3 separate regions of the Homo sapiens genome follow, and regions 1 and 3 are each linked to region 2. Evidence: promoter capture Hi-C in human tissues and cell types (Jung and others, 2019). All regions are on one chromosome and are shown on one strand. Each heading gives the region's core, a stretch centred on a gene start or on the middle of the fragment in contact. The rest is flanking DNA. Distances are from core to core; before and after follow the strand shown.

The links. Contacts are between HindIII fragments. The study calls those that stand out against the background at their distance.
Region 1: a contact is called between a fragment that was not itself captured here and the fragment with the promoter of PPFIBP1 in region 2, in 1 of the 25 tissues and cell types used here (hippocampus).
Region 3: a fragment that was not itself captured here is called in contact with the fragment with the promoter of PPFIBP1 in region 2 in 1 of the 25 tissues and cell types used here (liver).

Annotation. Positions count from the first base shown.
Region 1 is chr12:27,071,775-27,076,445 of GRCh38, reverse strand. No RefSeq gene overlaps it. Among named protein-coding and RNA genes, the nearest start is that of C12orf71, 8.5 kb to the left of the region's middle. The HindIII fragment of the contact is 7,623 bases long and covers 1-4,671 here.
Region 2 is chr12:27,522,215-27,526,708 of GRCh38, reverse strand. It overlaps PPFIBP1 (PPFIB scaffold protein 1), which reads right to left and starts at 2,503. Exons shown (of 30, transcript NM_003622.4): 1 at 2,344-2,503. RefSeq lists enhancers at 1,881-2,481, 2,728-3,187, 3,085-3,686. The HindIII fragment of the contact is 12,160 bases long and covers 1-4,494 here.
Region 3 is chr12:27,252,152-27,256,464 of GRCh38, reverse strand. The region is part of intron 1 of STK38L (serine/threonine kinase 38 like); the gene reads right to left. Among named protein-coding and RNA genes, the nearest start is that of STK38L, 10 kb to the right of the region's middle. The HindIII fragment of the contact is 4,536 bases long and covers 322-4,313 here.

The sequences.
Region 1 (4,671 bases), core at 344-2,843, 450 kb after region 2:
AACATGCACATGCTCTCTAAGATTACCCCACAGGTGCCTTCTTAGTTATCAAGAGGATTAGGCACCTTTACAATGGAAAGGTCTGGTCAACACCAACTTAGCCAAGTGATTAAACTTAGCCTAGCTAATATCATGCACCTTCTGAAAAGAAGCAATGTATACTTGCTAGCAATGTTTAATTTGAATCTAATTATGAGGACACCAACAGTTAGATGAATCTAGACAACAGGACATTTTACCAGACAACTGTCTTTGTCTTTTAAAACATGTTAACATCATAAAACTCAAAATAAAACACAAAAAAGACAGGGAGACAAAAGAGTTCATAAAAGAGATGAAAGAAACATGACAACCAATTGCTCTTTGTAATTTTTTTTTTTTTTTTTTGAGATAGAGTCTTGCTCTGTTGCCCAGGCTGGAGTGCAGCGGCACAATCTCGGCTCACTGCAAGCTCCGCCTCCCAGGTTCACGCCATTCTCCTGCCTCAGCCTCCCGAGTAGCTGGGACTACAGGCACCCGCCACAACACCCCGCTATTTTTTTGTATTTTCAGTAGAGACGGGGTTTCACCTTGTTAGCCAGGATGGTCTCGATCTCCTGACCTTGTGATCCACCCGCCTCGGCCTCCCAAAGTGCTGGGATTACAGGCATGTGCCATCACACCCGGCTAATTTTGTATTTTTAGTAGAGATGGGGTTTCTCCATGTTGGTCAGGCTGGTCTCGAACTCCTGACCTCAGGTGATCCGCCCACCTTGGCCTCCTAAAGTGCTGGGATTACAGGCGTGAGCCATTTTTGATGGAATCTTTGATCAAAACCAAAAGCAAAACAAAAACTATGGTAAAGGGCATTTTTTTTTCTGAATGTGGAGTGTACCTTAGATAATATGATTGAATATTTGCTGGGTATAATGAGAATATACGGCTATGTAGGAGAATGTCCTGGGTTCTTAGGAAATTTAGGCTGAAATATTTAAGGATAGAAGTGTCATGATATCTGCAACTTACTTTCAATTAGTCCAGGAAAAAAGAGAGAAAGAGAAAATGAGAAAGCAAAGATGGGGAAAATATAAAAAAAAGTTCTAGTAAGTAGGTAGTATAGATCTCTATTAAAGTATTATATCTGCTATATTTGTATGACAGTAATAGCTTATGAGGTATATATATATATATTTAAAACATCAAACATTTACTCTAAACAAAACTTAGATAATAATTTGATTTCTCAAGCAATATAAACTGGGCAATTCTTTAATCTAGATTCATTCATTCATCCTGGCACCTGCCTTTGGGTTCACAGCTGGCTGCAAAGAATTTTCAGTCTCACAGATTGGTAACTATTCATCCTTCAAGTCCTAACTATAAAAAGCCAAATTGGTTCAGTTGAAAGCAGACTAGCATCGAGGTATTTTTCCAGAACATGTAAGATTTCAGGAGTTTATCTAGCTTTTGCTGAGATTAAAAAGAATAATTTTTGCCAAATGGGGAGGTAGGTCCTCTGTCCTTTGAAATTTTTGCAAGTTTCAAAGCCTGAATATCTCATGTCTACCTTCAAAACACAGTAAATTTCTGTTTCTCACAAATCAAGAACAGCCTGACACTTACAATGCTAATAATTTCTTCAAATTGTTTTGACGTTTTCTTTTATTTTGAGCAGTGACAGATTGTTCTGCTTCTTCCAAACTAACAAGAACAGGCATAGTCCACTATATGCAGTATTGTGCATTCTAGGGGACTTCTGAGAGTGAGAGTGTGCTCTATATAGTCTTTTGTTGTTGCTGAGACAGAGTCTCACTCTGTAGCCTAGGCTGGGGTGCAGTGGCATGATCTCTGCTCACTGCAACCTCCACCTCCTGGGTTCAAGCGATTCTCATGCCTCAGTGTCCCAAATAGCTGGGACTACAGGCATGCGCAACCACACAGGCTAATTTTTACATTTTTAGTAGAGACAGGGTTTCACCATGTTGGCCAGGCTGGTCTCAAAATCGTAGCCTCAAGGAGTTGGTTTTTTGAAAAGATTAACAAAATAGATAGACCGTTAGCCAGACTAATAATGAAGAAAAGAGAGAACAATCAAATAGATATAACAAAAAATGATAAAGGGTATATCGCCACTGATCCCACAAAAATACAAACTACCATCAGAGAATACCATAAACACCTCTACACAAATAAACTAGAAGATCTAGAAGAAATGGATAAATTCCTGGACACTTACACCCTCCCAAGACTAAACCAGGAAAAAGTCGATCCCTGAATAGACCAATAACAAGTTCTGAAATTGAGGCAGTAATTAATAGCCTACCAACCAAAAAAGCCCAGGACCAGATGGATTCACAGCCAAATTCTACCAGAGGTACAAAGAGGAGGTGGTACCATTCCTTCTGAAACTATTCCAAACAGCAGAAAATTAGGGACTCCTCCCTAACTCATTTTATGAGGCCAGCATCATCCTGATACCAAAACCTGGCAGACACACACACACACACACACACACACACACACACACACCAATTCAGGCCAATATCCCTGATGAACATCAATGCAAAAATCCTAATAAAATACTGGCAAACCAAATCCAACAGCAAATCAAAAGCTTATCCATGATGAAGTCGGCTTCATCCCTGGGATGCAAGGCTCATTCAACACATGCAAATCAATAAACATAATCCATCACTTAAACAGAACCAACGACAAAAGCCACATGATTATCTCAATAGTTGCAGAAAAGGCCTTCGATAAAATTCAACATCCCTTCATGCTAAAAACTCTCAACGAAGTAGGTATTATTGGAACATATCTCAAAATAATAGGAGCTATTTATGACAAACCCATAGCCAGTATCATACTGAATGGGCAAAAGCTGGAAGTATTCCCTTTGAAAACTGGCACAAGACAAGGATGCCCTCTCTCACCACTCCTATTCAACATAGTACTGGAAGTTCTGGCCAGAGCAATCAGGCAAGAGAAAGAAATAAAGGGTATTCAAACAGGAAAAGAGGAAGTCAAAATGTCTGTTTGCAGACGACGTGACTGCATATTTAGAAAACCCCATTGTCTCAGCCCAAAAACTCCTTAAGCTGATAAACAATTTCAGCAAAGTCTCAGGATACAAAATCAATGTACAAAAACCACAAGCATTCCTATACAACAAAAAATAGACAAGCAGAGAACCAAATCATGAGTGAACTCTCTCTCATTCACAATTGCTACAAAGAAAACAAAATACCTAGGAATACAACTTACAAGGGACATGAAGGACCTCTTCAAGGAGAATTACAAACCACTGATCAAGGAAATAAGAGAGGACATAAACAAATGGAAAAAAAATCCATGCTCATGGATAGGAAGAATCAATATCATGAAAATGGCCATATTGCCCAAAGTAATTTATAGATTCAATGCTATCCCCATCAAGCTACCATTGACTTTCTTCACAGAACTAGATTAAAAAAAAACTACTTTAAATTTCATATGGAACCAAAATAGAGTCTGTATAGCCAAGACAATTCTAAGCAAAAAGAACAAAGCTGGAGGCATCACACTACCTGACTTCAAACTATACTACAAGGTTACAGTAACCAAAACAGCATGGTACTGGTACCAAAACAGATACACAGACCAACGGAACAGAACAGAGGCCTCAGAAATAACACCACACATCTACAATCACCTGATCTTTGACAAATCTGACAAAAACAAGCAATGGGGAAAGGATTCCCTATTTAATACATAGTGCTGGGAAAACTGGCTACCCATATGCAGAAAACAGAAACTGGACCCCTTCCTTACACCTTATACAAAAATTAACTCAAGATGGATTAAAGACTTAAACGTAAGACCTAAAAATATAAAAACCCTAGAAGAAAACCTAGGCAGTACCATTCAGGACATAGGCATGGGCAAAGACTTAATGAATAAAACACCAAAAGCAATTACAACAAAAGCCAAAATTGACAAATGGGATCTAATTAAACTAAAGAGCTTCTGCTCAGCAAAAGAAACTATCATCAGAGTGTACAGGCAACCTACAGAATGGGAGAAAATTTTTGCAATCTATCCATCTGACAAAGGGCTAATATCCACATTCTACAAGAAACTTAAACAAATTTACAAGAAAAAAACAAACAACCCCATCAAAAAGTGGACGAAGGATATGAACAGACACTTCTCAAAAGAAGACATTTATGTGGCCAACAAATATATGAAAAAAAGCTCATCATCACTGGTCATTAGAGAAATGCAAATCAAAACCACAATAAGATACCATCGCACGCCAGTTAGAATGGCGATCATTAAAAAGTCTGGAAATGACAGATGCTGGAGAGGATGTGGAGAAATAGGAACATTTTTACACTGTTGGTGGGAGTGTAAATTAGTTCAACCATTGTGGAAGACAGTGTGGTGATTCCTCAAGGATCTAGAACCAGAAATACCATTTGACCCAGCAATCCCATTACTGGGTATATACCCAAAGGATTATAAATCATTCTACTATAAAGACACATGCATACATTATGTTTATTGCAGCACTGTTTACAACAGCAAAGACTTGGAACCTAACCAAATGCCCATCAATGATAGACTGGATAAAGAAAATGTGGCACATATACACCATGGAATACTATGCAGCCATAAAAAAAGAATGAGTTTATGTTCTTTGCAGGGACATGG
Region 2 (4,494 bases), core at 1,254-3,753:
TGCCCACCACCACACCCGGCAATTTTTTTGTATTTTTAGTAGAAATGGGGTTTCACCATGTTAGCCAGGCTGGTCTCCAACTCCTGACCTCAGGTGATCTGCGTGCCTCAGCCTCCTAAAGTGCTTGGATTACAGGTGTGAGCCACCAAGCCTGGCCGACCTTAATTTTTAAAGTTGCTCTTGGAAATATGACAGTTGTTGGTCACAGGAATTTAACCAAAAACTGATCCTACCTTTCTCAATAACTCAAACATCTTTTAAGTATTCCGTGTTTTCCTACACCATATCTGCCTCATAAACATGGACTGAGAAAGAGAAATATTGGTTTAAATTAAGTATGTAAAATTACTGCTATTATTCAAACTGTGAATCAAATTTAGAGTTTTGGTATATTCAAGTCCCTAAACTAGGACTAGTTTCTTGGAAAGAAAGTGTAAATCTGAATTTGGCACATAAGGATAACATCCTAAAGATACTCTTCTTTACTGAACCGTCTGGCTTTTGCAGCCCCATCTTTTGGTATTACAAATGCAGTTGGAACACTATCAGCCAAGGAACACTACCGTGAGTTCACATTAGCCCACAGGAACTCCACTCCACAGCTCTATCCTACTGAAAAAGTACACTGGAAAATACAGTATGTTTTATGTACTCCCCATAGAACATAAATAGAAAAGACTTGTTCACCATTATTGCAGAGCCATTTGCAATTTCTGTGTCTTAAGCCAAAATACAAACCAAAATTAAAATGTTGTCTTTCCAATAAAGCGAATTTTCCTTTCTCAAAAAGCCTGCTATTTTATCCACTCTATTTAATTTTTTCAGGAACTAACAACAATACAGACCCAGGTATGTCATAAACAACAGCACAACCAAACACTTCTTTCTAGTTCTGAAACCTAATGATCATTTGGCTAGAAAGATAGAGAACCCCATCTATAGTCCTCTATCCCTTTTCCTGACTTGGGTTTACTAGACCTACTGTTGTGGCTTCTTTCTTTCTCCATCTCCTGGAAATGCCTTTTCCCTTCAGGGGCCTGGGATACGGATTTTGACTCACAATGAAGTCCACTCCCATTTCCTCCAGACCTGGCAACAGTAGGATCCTCACTGCTGAGGAGGAACTTCGGTGAAGGAAAGGGGAAACTTGACTCAGGAGTCTCAGCGCTTACTTTTTTTTTTTTTTTTTTTTTTTCCTTCCTGCTCCAAAAGAGAGCCTTAAAGCACTGATGAGAGGGTCCTGAATCGGTGTATGGAGTCAATTTCCCCGCCCCCTCGAGAAAGTCAATCACACCCAGTTAGTGACCTGGGCACACAAAATCTCCACATAGGAAAAAGACAGGGTTTGAAATAGGAAATAAACAAAAATCAGAATTCTATTCTTTCACTTCTTAAAAGTATCTTTTTCCTCCCGCAATTGCTTTCTCAAAATACCAAACTTGGACTTTGAAATCAAGTTCTTTTTCTATTGCTCTCCGCAGTTCTTACTGAAAGCAAGGATTTGTTTTGGTCCCACATGTTGAAAACTTCACGTCCCTATAATTAAGAGTTTATATGCCACGCCTTCCACCGCGTTTCCCTGTTAAAACTCCCTTCTCTAAAAAAGATCCCTGAAAACACAACTACCAGCTCGCCCCTCAAGCAGCCACAGGAAACAGATCTGAAGATTCTCAGCAGCCATCCTAACCTCTCCAGATATAAAGCTGGCAGCTGAAGGGATTTCTCGGTTAAAATGAGTGAATACTAGTTGCAGTTTTAGAAGTGTGCCCCCAAGAGACGAGTTTTCCCGCAAGCTCATAATTAATAAACACCCCAAGTGAATTTCTCACATCCTGACTGGATTACACAAAAGGATATTTTACATTGATATATAAGACTAACATTGATATTCTTTTAATATATAATAGGCCACAAGGAGACAAAAAAATACAAAACTTTTTTTTTCTTTTCAACGAGCATAATTTTTGAGTCGATGATCCATAATTTTTTGTGGCATTTTTAAATGCCTCAATACACACAGACAGAGAGACACACACGCCCCTCTGGTTGGGGTTCTCAGGTATTACCGGGAGCCTAGGGTGTGGGGGTCTAAGGATACAGACAAGACCTAAACGTCCAATCCTGGAGTATTCTTCACGTACAAGCTCGGTCCAAGCCCCAGGAGTTAAGCCCTACCCCTCCACCCCCACCACCCCCAAAAAGTGCCCGTTCCCATTGGGAAACAGGAGTGAGTTGCACAAGGAAATCGACCCGGGGAAGAGGAGGAGCAGCTGCAACAGCCAGCTGCAGCCACACAACGGTGCCACTTCCCTCCCGTCTGGGAGTGGAGCAAAACGCCCTTACCTGGGGGGTGGAGAGCCGCCGGCACTAGTTCCAAAAGTTCTGGTCCACCTCCTCTCGGAGTTCAAAGCCCCAGCACTCCGGCCCGGCCGCCAGCTCGCAGCACACGAGTCCTTCCCCGTCCTTTCCCCACCCTGCCTGCACTACACCATGTCAGGAATCCGGGCAGGCACCGAGCTGGGAGCTGACATCACTCCCAGTTCCAGGTACCTCCCCCTCCCACTGCCGCCCTTCTCTCCTCCCTCCCTGCAGGAATCAGCCAAAGAGAGTCAGCAGTGGGGCGGGGCCGGGGGCGCCTGCGCGCCCGCTGATTGGAGCCGGGGAACGTCACTCAGAGGAGTCCACTAATTTTATGCATTCCTCGCTGAGCCAGACTAGGGCTGGAAGTGGGTGGATGGAAGAAAATGCTGCCCTTCCTGCTATCTCTAAGGAACGGAGATAATCCGATGGGGAAGAACCTGGCGGGTCGAGTTTTAAACTTTTCTTGTTGTAGTTACTGAGATTCCAGATCAGAAACGAAACTAACCCACGCGAACCCCCTTTTTAAGGAGAAACAATTGCCTCGGTGTCACAGGCACACGGGCATGTACAAGCCCGGCGGCGCGTGGTGTAGAAAATGGCTAGCTTTAAGCCATGCAAATAAAGGAAAACGTCAGCTCACCCTTCTGCCCTTTTATCCTGGGACTGCTGGGTGTTCCCTTAGACGGGGAATGTAGAACTTCAAAAGCACTTCAGAAAGATTTGGAAGAGACTCCTGAAAACGGTGACCGAGCTTTGAATTGTTAAGTGGTGGTGTTGTCAGCCATGTGGCTGCTGTTGCTTTTAGCGATGAAAATCACACCACACAAGCTTCTCGGGCAAGTAAAATTGAATCTCTGAAGCAAGAAAAATGTATTTCCCCGTTTAAAGACCTTAAGGCTGCTGTTTCAATGCACACACTGAAAAGGGTGGAGGAAGGAGGGACCTCACAATTGAGTTCCACAAACCACATGAGAATAATTACTGTAGAATGGAACCAATTGTAGTGGCTGAGCTCTCAATTAAGAATTAACTAACGTTTATCCTTGACAGATATCATGCGGTATAATCCCCTTGGCTGACAGAAGAAAAAGATTCTCAGAAAATGGTTCTTTCAAGGCAGATGCTGCTTACAGGCAGACCTGAATGGTGAAAAGCAGCTTTATTTGTATGAGATATAGGTAGCATATAACCCACCATCTTCTAAAAATATAGTGAATTAATAACTTTCTCTTTTTTTTCTTCTTTTTTTAAACAGGTCACTCTGCCACCCAGGCTGGAGTGCAGTGGCATGATCTGGCTCACTGCAACCTCCTTCTCCTGGGTTCAAGTGATTCTACTGCCTCAGCCTCCGAGTAGCTGAGACTACAGGCGCCCACCACCACACCCGGCTGATTTTTGTATTTTCAGTAGAGACGGGGTTTCCGCCATATTGGCCAGACTGGTCTCGAAATCCTGACCTCAGGTGATCCACCCTCTTCGGCCTCCCAAACTGCTGGGATTACAGGCGTGAGCCACCACACCAGGCCTCATTGTTTTTTGATTGATGACATGCCATACATTTACCGATCTGCCAAAAATTGTAGAGGGATGCACAGAATCCAGCATTGTGTCTTGTTTAATCTTCTCAATCATCCTGTAAATTGAGTGTTACTAGCCCTATTTTAACGTAAGGAATCAAAGGCTCAGCAAAGTTATGTAAGTAAATTTCTCCAAATCAGCTAGAACTTGGATTGAAACCGAGGTCTATTTGACTCCAAAGCCATTGATTTTCTTTCTATATCTCAAGTATTGAGTGTCCATAATTTATACTTTTTCAAACAATAGAATGCTACAAGAAATCCACAGGCTTGGGCCACTGCTCTCACAGACCTACTTTATATAATTACCATCTTGTTGCTTGTCAGACCTGCAGTATTCCAAACTCCTGACTTGAATTTCTGACTCCAGTTTCCCCCAGTTCTAATTATTTCTCTGTACCACTCACTACCGATGAGTTTTCTAAAATGTTTGGTTTTGTCATCAACATCTTCCCCTCTAAATCAGGTCCCCCTTTCCCTGCAATTCTTATCTAGCCATTTAAAACTCTCTCTTATCCTGCTTCTTACCTTTCCCAGCTTATCTCCCACTTCGCTC
Region 3 (4,313 bases), core at 1,340-3,839, 270 kb after region 2:
AAAGCACAGGAATTACCCAAGAAGTATAGGAAAGGGCATTCCAGAAAGTAGTGTGTGAGACCGAAGGTACAAGAAAGCTAGTGGTTCAGTGTGGTTGGAGAGGTGAGTAGGGGAGTGATGGAAGACAAGGCTGGAAAACTAAAAAGGAACTCATGTGTCACACTAAGGAGCCTGGAAGAGGCCATGGGGAGTCACTAGAAATTTTAAGGATGAAAGTTACATAATGAGATTCAAGTTTAGGACAGTCATTGTGGCAGCCACATGGAAGACAGACTGAAAGAAGGCAAGACTGGTAGCAGGGAAAGATGGCTAGTTCAATCACTGGGCACCTGAATGAATATTCTGGCACTGGAGGAAGAGCAAAGGCAGAGTTCAAGACATAGTTAAGGAAGACCTAAAAAATGACTAGATGTCAGTCATAAACAAGGAGGACGAGTCAAGGGTGATTTCCAGGTTTACAGCTTAAGAACCAAATAGAGAACAACGCCATGCACTGGGAAAGCTAAGGAGCACAAGAATGGCTCTGTGAAGGGAGAAGATAAAGTCAGCTCTGGGTGAGCAGAATCCAAGTTATCCATGGAACACACCAAAGGTGGTGATATCTAGAAGACAGATGGACAATGGGGTCTTAAGATCAGGACGGGGACCTGAGCAAGATATACCGGTTTGGAAGTCATCATTGCAGAGAAGTTATTGAAGATATCACAGCATATGAGATCACCCACACTCACAGTGCAGGGAGTGAGAAGAGGATTGGGGACAAAAGAGCACATTAACCATTTAAGGGAATGAAAGTTAGCTATCTTATGATCTGTTAAGTTCCTTGTCTTTAGGCAAGGAACTTAAATATTTAGGCAAAGACTAAACATCCACTTGTTGGAGATGATGTACAGGGAATTCACAACAGAGTTGGACTAGATGACCTCTAAAGCATCTTTCAACTCTGAAAATCAATCAAAAACTTCAAGACAGTATTTCTTACAATCTGAGAAATAACTTTTCACCACTATTACAGAAAAGCTAAAATCTTAAGTATTTTTGTTTTTGGCTTTGTCAGTCCAATATCTTGTGTAAGTTCTAAAAAATAAATTTTTTGTTGTTTGATAATGTTTTCTGAAAGGGAGAGAGTACTTGGTTTACTTGTACAGAAAAGCACAGGCTCTAATTTCTTAGCCCTATTTTTCCTTCTGTGGGTCCAGTTACACTCTTGGTTAGTATGAAAATGCAGTTTTACTACGGTAAAAATTCAAACACATGTTCCCAGCTATTCATCCCTTTACTTTCTGCCACCTTGTGCCTGAATTGGGCTATACAATGGGGCTAATCTATGGATTTAGATCTTAAAGCTTTAACTACATTTCAGAAATGTGCTTATAATTTTCATTGATATTTAAAGTATGTTGATTTCTGTCTCCTTTTCTGCTCAATTCTAAAAATAAAGAGACACTGGTCCATATACAATTTTAAAAATTAAATCCAGAAATGTTTGATTAAAAGAAACTGCCATTTTTGGCATAAAAATACAACCAGAGTATTTTCAGACAGGACTGCTGGGAGTTCAACTTAATCCTTAAATATGGCACTGGTCCTACCAAGTGGTACCTGGAAGAGGTGTGGAGGTACTTGATCTCTTTTAACCATATGTACTTTTTCTCCCGCCCCCTCTCTGTGCCTCCCCTACCACCCCACAAGCCCGCTTTTCCTCCTTCTGTTCCTTTCACTTTCCTCCTGAGAGTGCCCATGATCTTTTAGTATTACCAGTAATGGCACTAAAGCCAAAACAGCTGCCAACCGCTGGCCTAGAAATACAATGGATATAATTTGAATTAGAGACTACCATTAACTTTTTGGTTGTCCTTAGAAAACAACTTTATATTCTGTTTCAGTGGTCCAATCCAAAGGACAGAAAAAAAAATAACCACTGTAGAAAGTAAATCTATGTAAAAAAGAAATCTGTAGTGCTTTTTATCTCTAGCAATCTAACGTAGATTATACATACAAAGTTTATAATAACGATTTGCACATACAGGTCTCTGAATGACCAAACAAGGATAGAGGAGGACCAGAGATGATGTTTGACACCATCTGAAGTTTAGGGTCATGTTAGTTATTAAACTGTGTTATTTTTAAAAAATAATAAGGCTTAGAGTAGAGAGGAGAAAAGAATCAAGGCTAGAACTAGAATAAAAGGACTTCATTATTAGGTATTACAGTCTTGGGAAATGTTTAAGAGTTCCATAAAACCCTATGGGAAAGGTAAATAATCATGTTCCTACCACAATCCCCTCCCTCAAGTCAGGTGCTCTTGAAGCTGTGCTTTGATGCAGCATTCTCTTTATACAACAACCTCGGTGGTTCTAGGCTTCATCAAAGAAAAGGATTTTAGTGGATTTACTTTTCTCTTTATCTCTCTGGCTGATGGTATCTTTACTTTTTCTGTTTAATTTCACAAAATGGAAGCAAGAGACAATTTATCACCAGCACTGCACTCCAGGTTGGGAGTGAGAAGCACAGAAGAGGTGCTTCCAAGAGGCTACTAGAGGCAACAGAAACACTTTCTTACAAAAGCTCAGAGTGCTAAAGCTGGATAAACATAAATAGACAGCAAATAAAAGTTCATTGCTCCTGTCCAGCATCACGGCAACAATTCCGGTTCCTGTGGCCCCCTAATATGCTTCGTGTCTTACATCACTATGTGATAATACCCGCCTGAGGCTTCTCGGCCTGAAACACTCCTCCTCACCCTTCAAGTCTAAGCTCAAACACTCACACATCCTTGGAAAGCTTCTCTCACTATCCCAAGTAGGTGCCCCTCTCCCTTAGGTGTGCCTCTCACTGCTCTTTCATGACAGCTGCTATGCCTGATTGCAGCTATTTCTACCCCTGTGAATGTAGCTCTCCAGTCACCTGCCCAGCTTCTGAGGGAGCACCATGTCTTTCCCTTTCCATATCTCCTGGCACACGGTATGTACTTTATGTACAATTCACAGTGAAAGAACTGCCTAGGTTCTTTCACTAGAGAGACCCATCCATGCAAGTCTCTCCTTCCCAATCTCACCTAGTTTAGAACTTCATTATTATCACCTAGATTATTTGTCTCTTCACTGGTCTTCCCATTTCTGGACTCTCTTTCCTTGAATTCACTCCATATACACTACTGCCACTTACAACTCTAAGTAATTAATGTACCAAGTTGAACAGGTGGTGAAGTAGAGAATGAAAAGCTGGAAAACATCAATTCTCTAAGTTCAAAGGGTTCAAATCCAACAGAGCAGAAAGAGAAGTAGATAATTAACAGAACTTACCAGGTGCTGTACAGATACACCCAATTTATGCTAATCCCTCTGCGTGGCATGTCCTTCACTCTGAAATGCTCAATTCATATTTCACTTCATATAGGAAGCTTTCCTAATCTCTACAGCCAGAAGCAATCTCTCTTTCCTCTGCTCCCACAGTACCCTGTTACTCCGTTGTCACTTTCTGTTTGAATTACAGTCATTTGTACCCATACATTATACCTCTTACTGGACTGAACTTTTCTAAATGGAGGGCCAAACATCTATTTGTCTCTATTTTGCCATGGTACCTAACACAGTGCCCTGCAAATAGCTGATAAATAATGAATTATGATGATTAACCTCACTAAAATATTATGAGTCTGTGATTCCTTTAGGATTTGCCAGTATCAAGAATATCAATGGGTCATATACATGCAATTCAGTACTAAAATTTTCCACTCTAGCCACAAAAATAGAAAAAGTCTATTCTGTTTGTCTAGATAAGAGTCGACATATGGAGAACATCCTCAACCAGATCTGAAAATGTTCAAATGAAATGGATCGCTGTTGTGAAAAACACAACAAAGGGCAACTCCCTAGTACTACAATAAACTGAGCAACCAGCCTCTGCTGCCAAATACAGAAAAGTCGTAAGGGGCAAACACGGTGTGGTATTTCCACAATGGGAGCAGGTCAGTGGGTAGACACTTAACTAAGTAAAAATGAACACTGCTAGTAAAAATTAATTTAATAAAACAGACACTAGTACAAGATAGTATGTCAAAAATGGATCATTGAATAAGCTGTCTGAGCTCTCAAACATTATCACTTTCCAGAAGTGAATACTACTTGCAGCTTATCCATTCTTTTAAGGATCATATTCAATTTTCTACAAAAGTGCTTTTGTAGGCCGGGCATGGTGGCTCATGCCTGTAATCCCAGCACTTTGGGAGGCCGAGGCAGGCGGATCACGAGGTCAGGAGATTGAGACCATCCTGGCTAACACGGTGAAACCCCATCTCTACTAAAAATACA